Linked DNA regions of Homo sapiens: regions 2, 3 and 4 are each linked to region 1. The links are contacts of gene promoters, found by promoter capture Hi-C in human tissues and cell types (Jung and others, 2019). All regions are on one chromosome and are shown on one strand. Each heading gives the region's core, a stretch centred on a gene start or on the middle of the fragment in contact. The rest is flanking DNA. Distances are from core to core; before and after follow the strand shown. Region 1 holds the start of HMOX1 (heme oxygenase 1). Region 2 overlaps RBFOX2 (RNA binding fox-1 homolog 2). Region 3 overlaps RBFOX2 (RNA binding fox-1 homolog 2). Region 4 overlaps RBFOX2 (RNA binding fox-1 homolog 2).

What was found. Contacts are between HindIII fragments. The study calls those that stand out against the background at their distance.
Region 2: a fragment that was not itself captured here is called in contact with the fragment with the promoter of HMOX1 in region 1 in 2 of the 25 tissues and cell types used here (bladder and heart left ventricle).
Region 3: a fragment that was not itself captured here is called in contact with the fragment with the promoter of HMOX1 in region 1 in 1 of the 25 tissues and cell types used here (dorsolateral prefrontal cortex).
Region 4: a fragment that was not itself captured here is called in contact with the fragment with the promoter of HMOX1 in region 1 in 2 of the 25 tissues and cell types used here (aorta and lymphoblastoid cells).

Annotation. Positions count from the first base shown.
Region 1 is chr22:35,379,635-35,382,537 of GRCh38, forward strand. HMOX1 (heme oxygenase 1) reads left to right here and starts at 1,462. Exons shown (of 5, transcript NM_002133.3): 1 at 1,462-1,562. The coding sequence starts at 1,540. RefSeq lists silencers at 1,183-1,262, 1,563-1,732. The HindIII fragment of the contact is 25,740 bases long and covers 1-2,903 here.
Region 2 is chr22:35,956,213-35,959,115 of GRCh38, forward strand. All of the region lies in intron 1 of RBFOX2 (RNA binding fox-1 homolog 2), which reads right to left. Among named protein-coding and RNA genes, the nearest start is that of RBFOX2, 71 kb to the right of the region's middle. The HindIII fragment of the contact is 3,101 bases long and covers 1-2,903 here.
Region 3 is chr22:35,931,519-35,934,421 of GRCh38, forward strand. All of the region lies in intron 2 of RBFOX2 (RNA binding fox-1 homolog 2), which reads right to left. Among named protein-coding and RNA genes, the nearest start is that of RBFOX2, 96 kb to the right of the region's middle. The HindIII fragment of the contact is 3,064 bases long and covers 1-2,903 here.
Region 4 is chr22:35,899,954-35,902,856 of GRCh38, forward strand. The region is part of intron 2 of RBFOX2 (RNA binding fox-1 homolog 2); the gene reads right to left. Among named protein-coding and RNA genes, the nearest start is that of RBFOX2, 130 kb to the right of the region's middle. The HindIII fragment of the contact is 4,689 bases long and covers 1-2,903 here.

The sequences.
Region 1 (2,903 bases), core at 212-2,711:
CAATCTCAGAAGTGCCTCTGGGCTGTAGTGGCCCTAGGCTGAATTCCAGGAAGTTTTTTTTTTTTTTTTTTGTTTTTTTTTTTTTTTGAGGGACAGCGTCTTGTTCTGTTGCCCAGGTTAGAATACAGTAGCGTGGTCACAGCTCACTCCAGCCTCTACATCCCAGGCTCAAGTGAACCTCCAGCCTCAGCCTCCCAAGTAGCTGGGACCACAGGCATGTGCCACCATGCCCAGCTAATTTATTTTATATTTTGTAGAGACAGGGTCTCCCTATGTTGCCCAGGCCAGTCTCGAACTCAAAGCAATCTTCCCACCTCGACTGGGCTCAAAGCGCTCTTCCCACCTCAACCTCCCAAAGTACTGGGACTACAGGTGTGAGCTACCATGCCAGGCCTGAAAGCCATCTTAAAAAAAAAATCTTAGAATGAGAATCACAGTATTGGGAAAGGACTGTATGAATCATCTGGTCCATTCGTTTTGTCCTCTGGGTTCACCCAGTGACCCTATTTCCCCCGAGTTCTAAGGAGTCCACCTCATGCAGAATTGATTCAATAGGCGATCAGCAAGGGCCAGCTCTGCTCTGGGCCCTGAGCAGGCACTGAGTATAAGTCAGACCTGAATGTGCCTGGAAGAGTGTCCCACGCATTCCAGCAGGGAAGCAGTTTGTATGACAGGTGTCCCAGTCCAGGCGGATACCAGGTGCTGCCAGAGTGTGGAGGAGGCAGGCGGGGACTTAGTCTCCTCCCTGGGTTTGGACACTGGCATCCTGCTTTATGTGTGACACCACTGCACCCCTCTGAGCCTCGGTTTCCCCATCTGTAAAATAGAAGCGATCTACCCTCACAGGTCAGTTGTAGGGATGAACCATGAAAATACTAGAGTCTCTGTTTTTTGACAGGAACTCAAAAAACAGATCCTAAATGTACATTTAAAGAGGGTGTGAGGAGGCAAGCAGTCAGCAGAGGATTCCAGCAGGTGACATTTTAGGGAGCTGGAGACAGCAGAGCCTGGGGTTGCTAAGTTCCTGATGTTGCCCACCAGGCTATTGCTCTGAGCAGCGCTGCCTCCCAGCTTTCTGGAACCTTCTGGGACGCCTGGGGTGCATCAAGTCCCAAGGGGACAGGGAGCAGAAGGGGGGGCTCTGGAAGGAGCAAAATCACACCCAGAGCCTGCAGCTTCTCAGATTTCCTTAAAGGTTTTGTGTGTGTGTGTGTGTGTGTGTGTGTGTGTATGTGTGTGTGTGTGTGTGTGTGTGTGTGTTTTCTCTAAAAGTCCTATGGCCAGACTTTGTTTCCCAAGGGTCATATGACTGCTCCTCTCCACCCCACACTGGCCCGGGGCGGGCTGGGCGCGGGCCCCTGCGGGTGTTGCAACGCCCGGCCAGAAAGTGGGCATCAGCTGTTCCGCCTGGCCCACGTGACCCGCCGAGCATAAATGTGACCGGCCGCGGCTCCGGCAGTCAACGCCTGCCTCCTCTCGAGCGTCCTCAGCGCAGCCGCCGCCCGCGGAGCCAGCACGAACGAGCCCAGCACCGGCCGGATGGAGCGTCCGCAACCCGACAGGCAAGCGCGGGGCGCGGGACGCGGGACGGGCGCCTTTCTCTCCCAACCCTGCTTGCGTCCTAGCCCCACCCCGGGACACTGCCACACAGCGACAGAGCCCAGGAGCCAGAAACTTGGGCTCTGGAGTCAGGAGGTGCGGGGTTCTGATCCTGCCTGTGCCCGTAGGGTAGTTGGAGGGAGGAACGGTAATTTACATGCCTGGCACCCTGGTATGCGGTTGGTGACCAAGATGGGAGTGTCCCTAGAGTATCCAGTCTTTGAGGTAGCCAATTTTTTTTTTAATCCTACTTTCGAGGTGTGTTTGGAGTTGCTCTCTGCTGAATCTAGATCTCTGGGGCTCTGCCAGCCTGGGGGAGCATGCTTGGTTCTCTTGGTGGCATCTGTCCCTCACTAGCTACGGAGGACCTGAGCCAGACATCACCCTGGCTGCGGTGTTCCATGTCTCACAGATAGCCCAGTTCAGGGAGGCGACATGCCCAAGAGTGCTCAGTTAGCTGGTGTCAGAACTGGGCCTTGAACCTTGGTCTGCCCACCTCCAGGTCTCACTCATTCCCTTCTTTCAATAATTTGTTAGTATTTTTTTTTTTAACTCCTGGGCTTAAGCATCCTCCCACCTCAGCCTCCAGAGTAGCTGGGACTTACAGACATGTGCCATTTCTCCTGAGACTTTGACCAGCTGTGTTGTAGAACAGGGAAGCAGGGCAGGAGAAAAGGGAAAAATGACAATTCTGTGGGGAGGCAGGGATACGGACCCATGACAGAAATACTCCCAGAAAGACTTTTTCTTTGACTAAAGCAGACTTTCTCAGGCTTTTTAACCCTGACGCCTTCATGATGAGCATAACATGATAGGGGGTCATGAGATTTGCATCTGGAACTTTAACAAAATAACTGAATTAAATATTGGGTCTAAAAGCCAATCAAAGCAATTACAAACTTGGAGATGCCGGTTCATGGGGCTGCTGCTTCTTCCTGGGTTATGCTGTACCTCCTCCTCCTCTCCACTGCGAACTACCTGTACCAGGATTTCCCCCTTGGTTTGGGGGACTGTATTATTTAGTGTTTTAATGACTGAAGAGTGTTTACAAAGCTGCGAGAGCCACCATGCCCAGCCTGAATTTGTTTTTTGTTTTTTGTTTTTTTGTTTTTTTGCTTTTTTGCTTTTCTTTTTTTGAGATGGAGTGTTGCTCTGTTGCCCAGGCTGGAGTGCAGTGGCGCGATCTCGGCTCACTGCAACCTCTGCCTCCTGGGTTCAAGCGATTCTCCTGCCTCAGCCTCCCAAGTAGTTGGGATTACAGGCGCCCACTACCATGCCCGGCTATTTTTTTTTTTTTTTTTGTA
Region 2 (2,903 bases), core at 298-2,797, 580 kb after region 1:
AATCTCATCTGAAAAGTCTTTTAAGGTTCAGAGCTGTCAAGCTCATAGGCCAGGATACAAGTTTTCCAAAACTCTAGTTTTTGCTTGAAAGTTCAAATTTTATCACTGGCCACAAATATCAGTTTTCCTTAAAATGACAGGCTTGCTTCATTTTTTTTTTTTTAATTAAGACAGGGTCCTGCTCTGTTGCCCAGCCTGGAGTGCAATGGTACAATCTCAGCTCACAGCAACCTCCACCTCCTGGGTTCAAGCAATTTTCCCACCTCAGCCTCCCAGGTAGCTGGGACTACAGGCACATGCCAGCACACCCGGCTAATTTTTGTATTTTTAGTAGAGACGGGGTTTCACCATGTTGGCCAGGATGGTCTCGATCTCCTGACCTCATGATCCCCCGCCTCAGCCTCCCAAAGTGCTGGGATTACAGGTGTGAGCCACTGCGCCTGGCCACCTCATTCATTTTTAATAAAACGTCCGAATACCATAGTCTATCAGTTGTTCTTTCAAATAAAAATGGCATCCCATGAAAAAAGTTCAGCTGGCAACTCAATCACAGAAGCAGTTTTCCTTTAGATAACTGTCATACTTAGTATGCAGCAGAAGTGCTTTATTTGTATTACCCATTTTGCCAAAGAGATTATTTAAAAGATTCATAACCGAGGATGGAGAATTAGTAATAGTAATAATTTTTACTACTTCAGCAGGAACACTGAAGTGAAACTGTCTTTCTCCCCTTCTTTAACTGTTAAGTGTTTGGTGGTGAAGAACATAACTACTCAGTCGTCATTACATTCTTTGGTACAGGCAGTTTGTGGCATAATAAGCCCATGTCCTAGTTTTGGCCTGTCACAGTAGCATGTGTAGTGAGGTATGGGGGAAAGTACAGTTATTAGAATCACACTGATCTACGTCTCTGGTAACCAACTAGCTCTATGGCTGTGGAAAGCTAATTCATCTCTCAGCCTCAAATTCTTCCATCTTTAAATGAGAATACTACCTACCTCATAGGATTGTTACAAGGATTGAGGTAATACATGCAATATCTTACACAGTGCCTGTTCCTTAATGGGGTGGCCCTGTTAACAATAATAATAAGAAGAAACAGTATCTTAGTTGTATGTAACACTTCACCACATACCAACACACAGGCAGTTCTGACTAGTACAGGACCACAGATTATGAGGGGACCCATAGGGATCATCTAATTCTAATTCAGCTACTTTACTTGCACCCTCCTTACCTTGCAACCATATTCACATAGCACAGACTGACCTTACAGATAAGAAAACCAATGTACCACAAGGTTTTAAATGTCTTTCTCAAGGTTACAGAGCTAGTCTAAGAAGCAGAAATTGGTGTCAAGCACATCCTCCTACTCATAACAATTCTGTTAGATAGATAACATTATTCTCTTTTGATTGATAATGGAAACTCAGGTTCATTCCCTTGAGTTTCAAGTGACATGTCCAAGGTCACAAAAACAGGCCTGGAACCCAAGTCCTCTCATTTGTAGTTCTTCCAACCGTAACTTAGAAATCTGTCTAAATACATGATTCACTCTGTGCAATCATTGATAATTATCTACATCTGGATCTGAATGGAATAACAGACTAACAGACACAATTATGTGAATACTCATTATGACTAAATATGCCAATTGATAACCACCAACAAATCAGTTTGTGTTGTGATATTTCAATTTAAACTGGTGTTTCACTAAACTGAAGACTTCACAAGCTTTGGCATTTAAAAAAACAAAAGATACCTCTTAATTAGCCTCAGAGTATAAAAGAAATACATTTCAAAGGATCATTCTGCAACATTCAAAAAAGTCCCTTTAAGACAGGCTGAGTTGACTATCACAGTCTAAATTTAAATTAACAATTCTACCCCAAAAAAAGTCATTATAGACAAAATAATAAATTTTATTTTAATTGATAGACATTATTTCAATTGAGTTTTATAACAGTCTCTTCACTCACATTGCTATTGAACATGATGTTAAACCAGCTCTGGTGTTTATTAGAGGAACAACTTAGGACAAGTTACTCACCTTTCTGGGCCTCAATTTTATTTTCTGGTCTATAAAATATATGTGATCATGTCTACACCTTGCAAGGATGTTAAGTTTAGGCACAAGGTATACAAAGCACCTGAAAGTATACCTACCCCATAGAGAAAAACTATTATTGTAACAATTTTTATTATATGCTTTGAGTTCACAATCCTGCCTATCCCTAAGTCCATTAAGATCTGGGTAAAACTGGACTTTTCTATTTCCTCCTGCTGCTGTTGCTTCCAATGCCCTACTGGCTACAACTGCCAACTCTCTGACCTAGACTCTCTGCCACCTACTACTAGTGTCCTCAGAGCAAGTCCCTGAACTTCCTTTTATTGTATTAATTCCCTGGTCAGAAAGAAGATAATGCTCATTACTTACCAATTCAGTGATCTTCTGATAATTACCACGTTAATTCTTGCTTGGAACCAATCTAAAAGACTTCAAACAACTTCAAACCTACCGAGGATTTTTTTTCTTGATGCCAAGTTTTAAAAACCAGGAATTACATTTTTTTAAACAAATGGTCAACTATTAAGAATTCATAAAAGAGCTGCCTGTCATATCTCGTTATACTTTGATTCCTGTATCAACTCAATTACTCAAATCCTTTAGTTCTTCATCTTCTAGCCCTCTTAGATAATAGTCTCCATTAAGTAAAAGGCATTTTGCAGAAACAGATAGAGAAAACTATATATATATATATATTGTGTAAAGCTTAGTTTTCTGCAAGTACAATTAAATACTCAAGATAGCTGGGAGAAGGGCAAGAAGAGCCCACAGAGATGAGATGGTACTGAGACTCCACTGGTGGCCCTTTCTAAGGGACTAGAACTACACTACAGAT
Region 3 (2,903 bases), core at 123-2,622, 550 kb after region 1:
AATCCCAGCACTTTGGGAGGTTGAGGCGGGTGGAACGCATGAACTCAGGAGTTCAAGACCAACCTGGGCAACATGGTGAAACCCCATCTCTACCAAAAATACAAAAACTAGCTGGGCATGGAGGTGCACACCTGCGGTCCCAGCTACTCAGGAGGCTGAGGTAGGAGGACCACTTGAGCCTGGGAGGTGGAGGTTGCAATGAGCAGAGATCATGCCACTGCACTCCAGCCTAGGTGACAAAGTGAGACTCCATCTCAAAAAAATAAAGGCATGAGGTTTCTTTAAGGTTGCATTTTTAAGGAATGTAAGTATTAGAACAATGTTTTTCAAACAGGTTGCAATCCATTAGTGGGTCCAGGAAAAATCCAGCAGAAATCAATTTTGGTCAATCGTTAGTCACAATCGACAATTTTTTGAAGGGGACAGAAAATATCACAGTACTTAGAACATGGTTAAGATAGGCAGCATTTGGTAAGACTAATTCTAAGTTATAGTCAACATATATGTATGTGTGTATACTGGGTCATGACATAAAAGCAACTGCCTCCTTGGGGTCAGTCTTTTTTTAAGCTCAAAAGCACTAAGCTAGAACCTGAACACACTTACCATGTCCTCCATTCCACCAACTATCCCCGAGGGAAGAAAAGTAGTCATCATTTCTTCAATCAAGCCAAATGAGCACTACAGAAGATATATTTGCTGTTGTCCACAGCTCCCAATAAAAAAAAAGCCTTGAAAGTTCATTGCAAAAATTTGACTAAAATAAAGTTCATTTTCTACCCATGAAAAAACTGGTTAGAAAAAAGAAAAAAAAAATCTTGAGGAAAGAAAATACTTGTTAAGAAAAGAAACCCTTAGGTCATTTTAAATTTACCCTCTTATTAAAAGTAAGGCTGCCACTCTGAATTTAAATCTATAATTGTCTATGTTATATTTGTCAACTTAAGCATCTCCTTTGATGTTCCCACTTGTTTCTGCTAATCAATGGGACATTGTGTCTTTCAACAGAATTTTAGAAAATTGAAGAAAAAAATATAGTTTTGAGAAGTCATTGACAAGCATTTTAAACATCAAAGAATGGGCCCCGCGTGGTGGTTCACATCTGTAATTCCAGCACTTTGGGAGGCTGAGGTGAGCAGATCACCTGAGGTCAGAAGTTTGAGATCAGCCTGGCCAACATGGCAAAACACTGTCTCTACTAAAAATACAAAAATTAGCCAGGCTTAGTGTCGCATGTCTGTAATCCCAGCTACTCAGGAGGCTGAGGCAGAAGAATCACTTGAACCCGGGAGGCAAATGTTGCAGTGAGCCAAGATTGCGCCACTTCATTCCAGCCTGGGCAACAGAGTCTCAAAAAAATTGACAACATGACATTTTTCTTTGTATTTAAAATATGAAAAGATAAAATTTAGATCATAAGTTATTTTAACAAACAAGATAGAAAACTTGACAGAAATAAGTTACTCAAGAACTTTCAAGTCATATGAAGACTTCATGCTCCCACATTCTCCAAAGATTCCAGAATATCTTATCTTGTCACACCAGCAAAAGAACACTTATATTCAGAGAGACACTGACAGACAAATACAAAAGGGAAATACAAGACATGGAGGCTGAAAATCGGGGTTCAAGTCCAATTCTTTACTTACTACCTATATAACTAAGACTGGGAGATTCATTTGACAGTCTCTGTGCTTTGGTATTCTTTTATCTATAAAATTGGGATAATAAAGCCCAAGCCACCTAGCTGAACTATTGTGAAGATCAAAAGTGGATATACACAGGAGGGTTTTGTAAACTGTAAAGCAGTTAGCAGATATTAGTTGGGTTTTTTGTGTACCACAAATATATACATTTGTATTCATCAATTAATAAACAAAATAGTACACTACAGCTTAAATAATTTTTAATGATGAAATAATGAAAGCTTTCAACACTTAGTTTTGCAAGTATCCCACTGCTGAACATCCCTTACTTGGTTAGGCCACCCCAATGAAGCAAAACAAATTATCTCTAGTTTGTGTGTATCTGTTCTAATCCTCTTCCCTACCCATCCCCCAAACCGAGTTGACTCTAAAACAATAGAACAAAATTTAGTCAAGTAACCACTAAGGAGATACAAAATTGATGAAACAAAAGTAAGTCTTCCCTGTGGTTGATTAAAGTATAAGCCTCTTTTAATCAATTAACTTGTTAAATTAACTAATGTTCTCCAGTTCCCAAGTCTAATAAAGGGACGCTTTTAACAGTCTTAAACCACCTAAAACTAGTAAACAACTCTCTCCTATTTGCCCCCAAGCCCTTTCTTCTCCCAGTAGCTGAGTTGTATGCTTACCAAAAATCACTTGTGTTTATTCACCTGCCAGTTTATAGAAGTCGTAAGTTCTTATAATTATATAATTAAATGTTATATATATATATATATATATATATATACACACATCAATGAAATAAATTAGAAAATTTCCTTGAAAATAACTAATGTGAATGCTTTGTGAAAAATAAGTCAAGACACTGAAAACTTAGGCTCAAATTAGATGTGGGCAGGATAACTGTAAAAGACCGGGCAAGAAGGGAAAACCATACAAATCTAGATAGACAGTTTCACCCAAATTGCTCTGAATGTCATCAAGACCGTGTTCCTCTTTAAAAAAAAAAACAAATTAGAACTCACAGATGATGCTCTGGGAGCACAGTTTATGCAAAAAATTCAAGTAGTATTTCAATCACATCTATATATAAGGATCTTGACCTCATATCAGGAAACTAAAGAGTAAGCATATATTTGTTTAAATTAAAAATGCTCTATATTAAAATAAAAGTTTAAAATATTTCCCCACTTCAACCAATTGTTTAGATTAACCCACGGCCTACTAGTTCTGATCACTTTGGTTAAGAAAACA
Region 4 (2,903 bases), core at 106-2,605, 520 kb after region 1:
CTGGGACAGCAATATGGGTATTGCCAATAATTCTAACCTTGCTTCCTGAATTCCTACATCTCAAAAATGCTGGATTTTGCAATGTGAGTCTGGTGGGCAGAAAGGGTCTGGAGCCACATTTTAGATGCTCTGCCTCTGACTCCAATAATTCAAGAGGCTACTTGTTTTGTTTGTTTTTGAGATGGAGTCTCACTCTGTGGCCCAGGTTGGAGTGCAGTGGCATGATCTCGGCTCACTGCAACCTCCGCCTCCCGGGTTCAAGTGATTCTCCTGTCTCAACCTCCCAAGTGGCTGGGATTACAGGCGCCTGCCACCACACCCAGCTATTTTTGTATTTTTAGTAGAGACAAGGTTTCACCATGTTGGCCAGGCTGGCAGGCTACTTGTTTTATACGAGTTTCTCTGTGGTTGTAAGAGGATAGCGGGGGGAAGTAGGTATACCGGGGGAGCCAGCACAATTTCTCAAAAATGTACCTGAGAAATCAGGCACTAAAAATTCTTCAGAAGAAATCTGAGGCAACCCTCTATACATAGTTTATATTCCTATCACTTCCTGGACTGGTAGAGACAATACAGACTCACCAAAACAACACTGAGGTAGAGAAATGAGATGTATGAGTATTGTCTATGAAGCTGACTTAAAAAAAAAAAAAAAAGTCGAAAGAATGAGGCTCTTTTTCCCTCACTTCCTCTCAGCTTAAAATAGCAGGGATTCCCACAGGGCAATCTCTAACAGAATTCTGCTACTCAAATGTGACACATGGACCAGCAACAGCAGAATGAGCATCAACTGGAAACTCCTTAGATTTGAAGAATCTCAGGCCCCACCCTAGACTTACAAAATCAAAATCATATGATAACAAAAGCCCCAGGTAACTCTCAGGCACACCGAAATCTGAGAAGCTGGTCTAGACAGAGGCACTGGCCACATGCAGCAGTAGCGACTCATGGGAGAAGGCGTAGATATGGCTGCCACTTTCCAGTTAGGGGATGTAAACCACCCTGGAAGACAAAACAGTGAACATTCCTCTCCCACTTGCTGGTTTCAATGTAACACCACCAACCGCTACTATTTACTCAGAGCATATTATGTGCCACAACTTTGCATGCATTATCTCATTGCATCTTCACAATATCTCTGTAAGACAGGCCCTGTTATCTTTTTCACAGATCAAAGGAAATTGAGGCCCAAAGTGGTTACATAATATACTCATGGTCTCACAGCTAGTGAATAAAGAGCCAAAAGTTCAACGTTCGTTTTTAAGACTCCAAGATCATTTCCACTAAATCATACCTATTCACTGACAAAACTGAATCAAGACTGGAAAAAAAATCACTGAAAAACTTACCCTGGATATAAATAACCCTGCACTCTACCTCTGCCCATTACCAAGACTTTAAATAACAAATGAAGCCAGGTGTGGTGATGTGAGCCTGTAATCCTAGCTTCTCAGGAGGCTGAGGCAGGAGGGTTTGCTTGAGCTCAGGAGTTTGAGACCAGCCTGGGCAACATAGTAAAACTCTCATCTCAAGAAAAAAGTAAAAAACAACAACAAACGACAGAGATAGGGTTTGGGAGTTGGTGTACACATACTGTACTTGTGCACTGGCCAAAACACTGCTACTACTGATGTCATTCAGAGAATAGACCCAGAAACTTCTGTGAATGGTGGTTACCTTCTATGATGTCTAAACTAAGCTCTAGATGTATATATACATGGAGAAAGCGGTCCATCTCAAAGCTAGCCTCTTGGGAAAGGCAATTAAGTGATTTGTTAGAGCTCTTACTCCCAGTTATTAGGAAACCCAGAGCTACCACCCCTAAAACAGAAGACTGCATTATCTTGGCTGGGCGCGGTGACTCACACCTATAATCCCAGCAATTTGGGAGGCTGAGGCAGGCGGATCACTTGAGTTCAGGAGTTCAAGACCAGCCTGGCCAACATGGTGAAACCCCATCTCTGCTGAAAATACAAAAATTAGCCAGGTGTGGTGGTGCATCTGTAGTCTCAGCTACTCAGGAGGCTGAGGCAGGAGAATCGCTTGAACCCTAGAGGCAGAGGTTGCAGTCAGCTGAGAATGCACCACTGCACTCCAGCCTGGGCGACAGAGTGAGACTCTGTCTCAAAAAAAAAAGAGAAGAAAAGCTGCATCATCTTAAAAGACCCATCTTTCCTTATTACGTTTCAATTATACTCTCAAAGAACTTCCCTTACTTCTAACTAGCTTTCTCTGGTATCCCCTCCCTACAATTTTTGACGTCATGAAGTCCTCCCATCCCAACCACTTTTCCATTATCTACCCACTCCGGTTCTGCACCCTCTTTGTCCAATTTTGATGCCGTGTTCCATAATTACAATCTCTCCCTTGCAAATACCCTCAATCATTTGTCCTCTCCATCACTGCCACCTGACACAACTCCAATCCTGGTTAAATCCAATTGTCTGCCTTTTCTAGTGCCTATGCCCAATCAGCTGAATGTTGCTGAAGAAAAATCACATAACCAAGCTGACTGACTTCACTATATATTCATGATCACAAACCTCAAATGGACACTCAACGATGCCAAGCAATCCACCAAAGCTGCCCTTGAAAGCTTTCCTACTCCCCAAAATGACTATTTCTTGCTTCTCCTCAAACCTCCCTCATTCACTCTTCACTACCTACTCTCAGCTAATTTTCTTATTTTACTTTTTGTCTGTTTGTTTTGAGACAGGATCTCACTCTGTCGCCCAGGCTGGAGTGCAGTGGTGCGATCATGGCTCACTGCAGCCTTGACCTCCCGGGCTCAAACTATTCTCCCACCTCAGCCTCCCAAGTGGCTGGAACTACATGCACATGCCACCACGCCCAGCTAATTAAAAAAAAAAAAAAAAAATTTAGAGAAGGGGCGGGTCTCACTA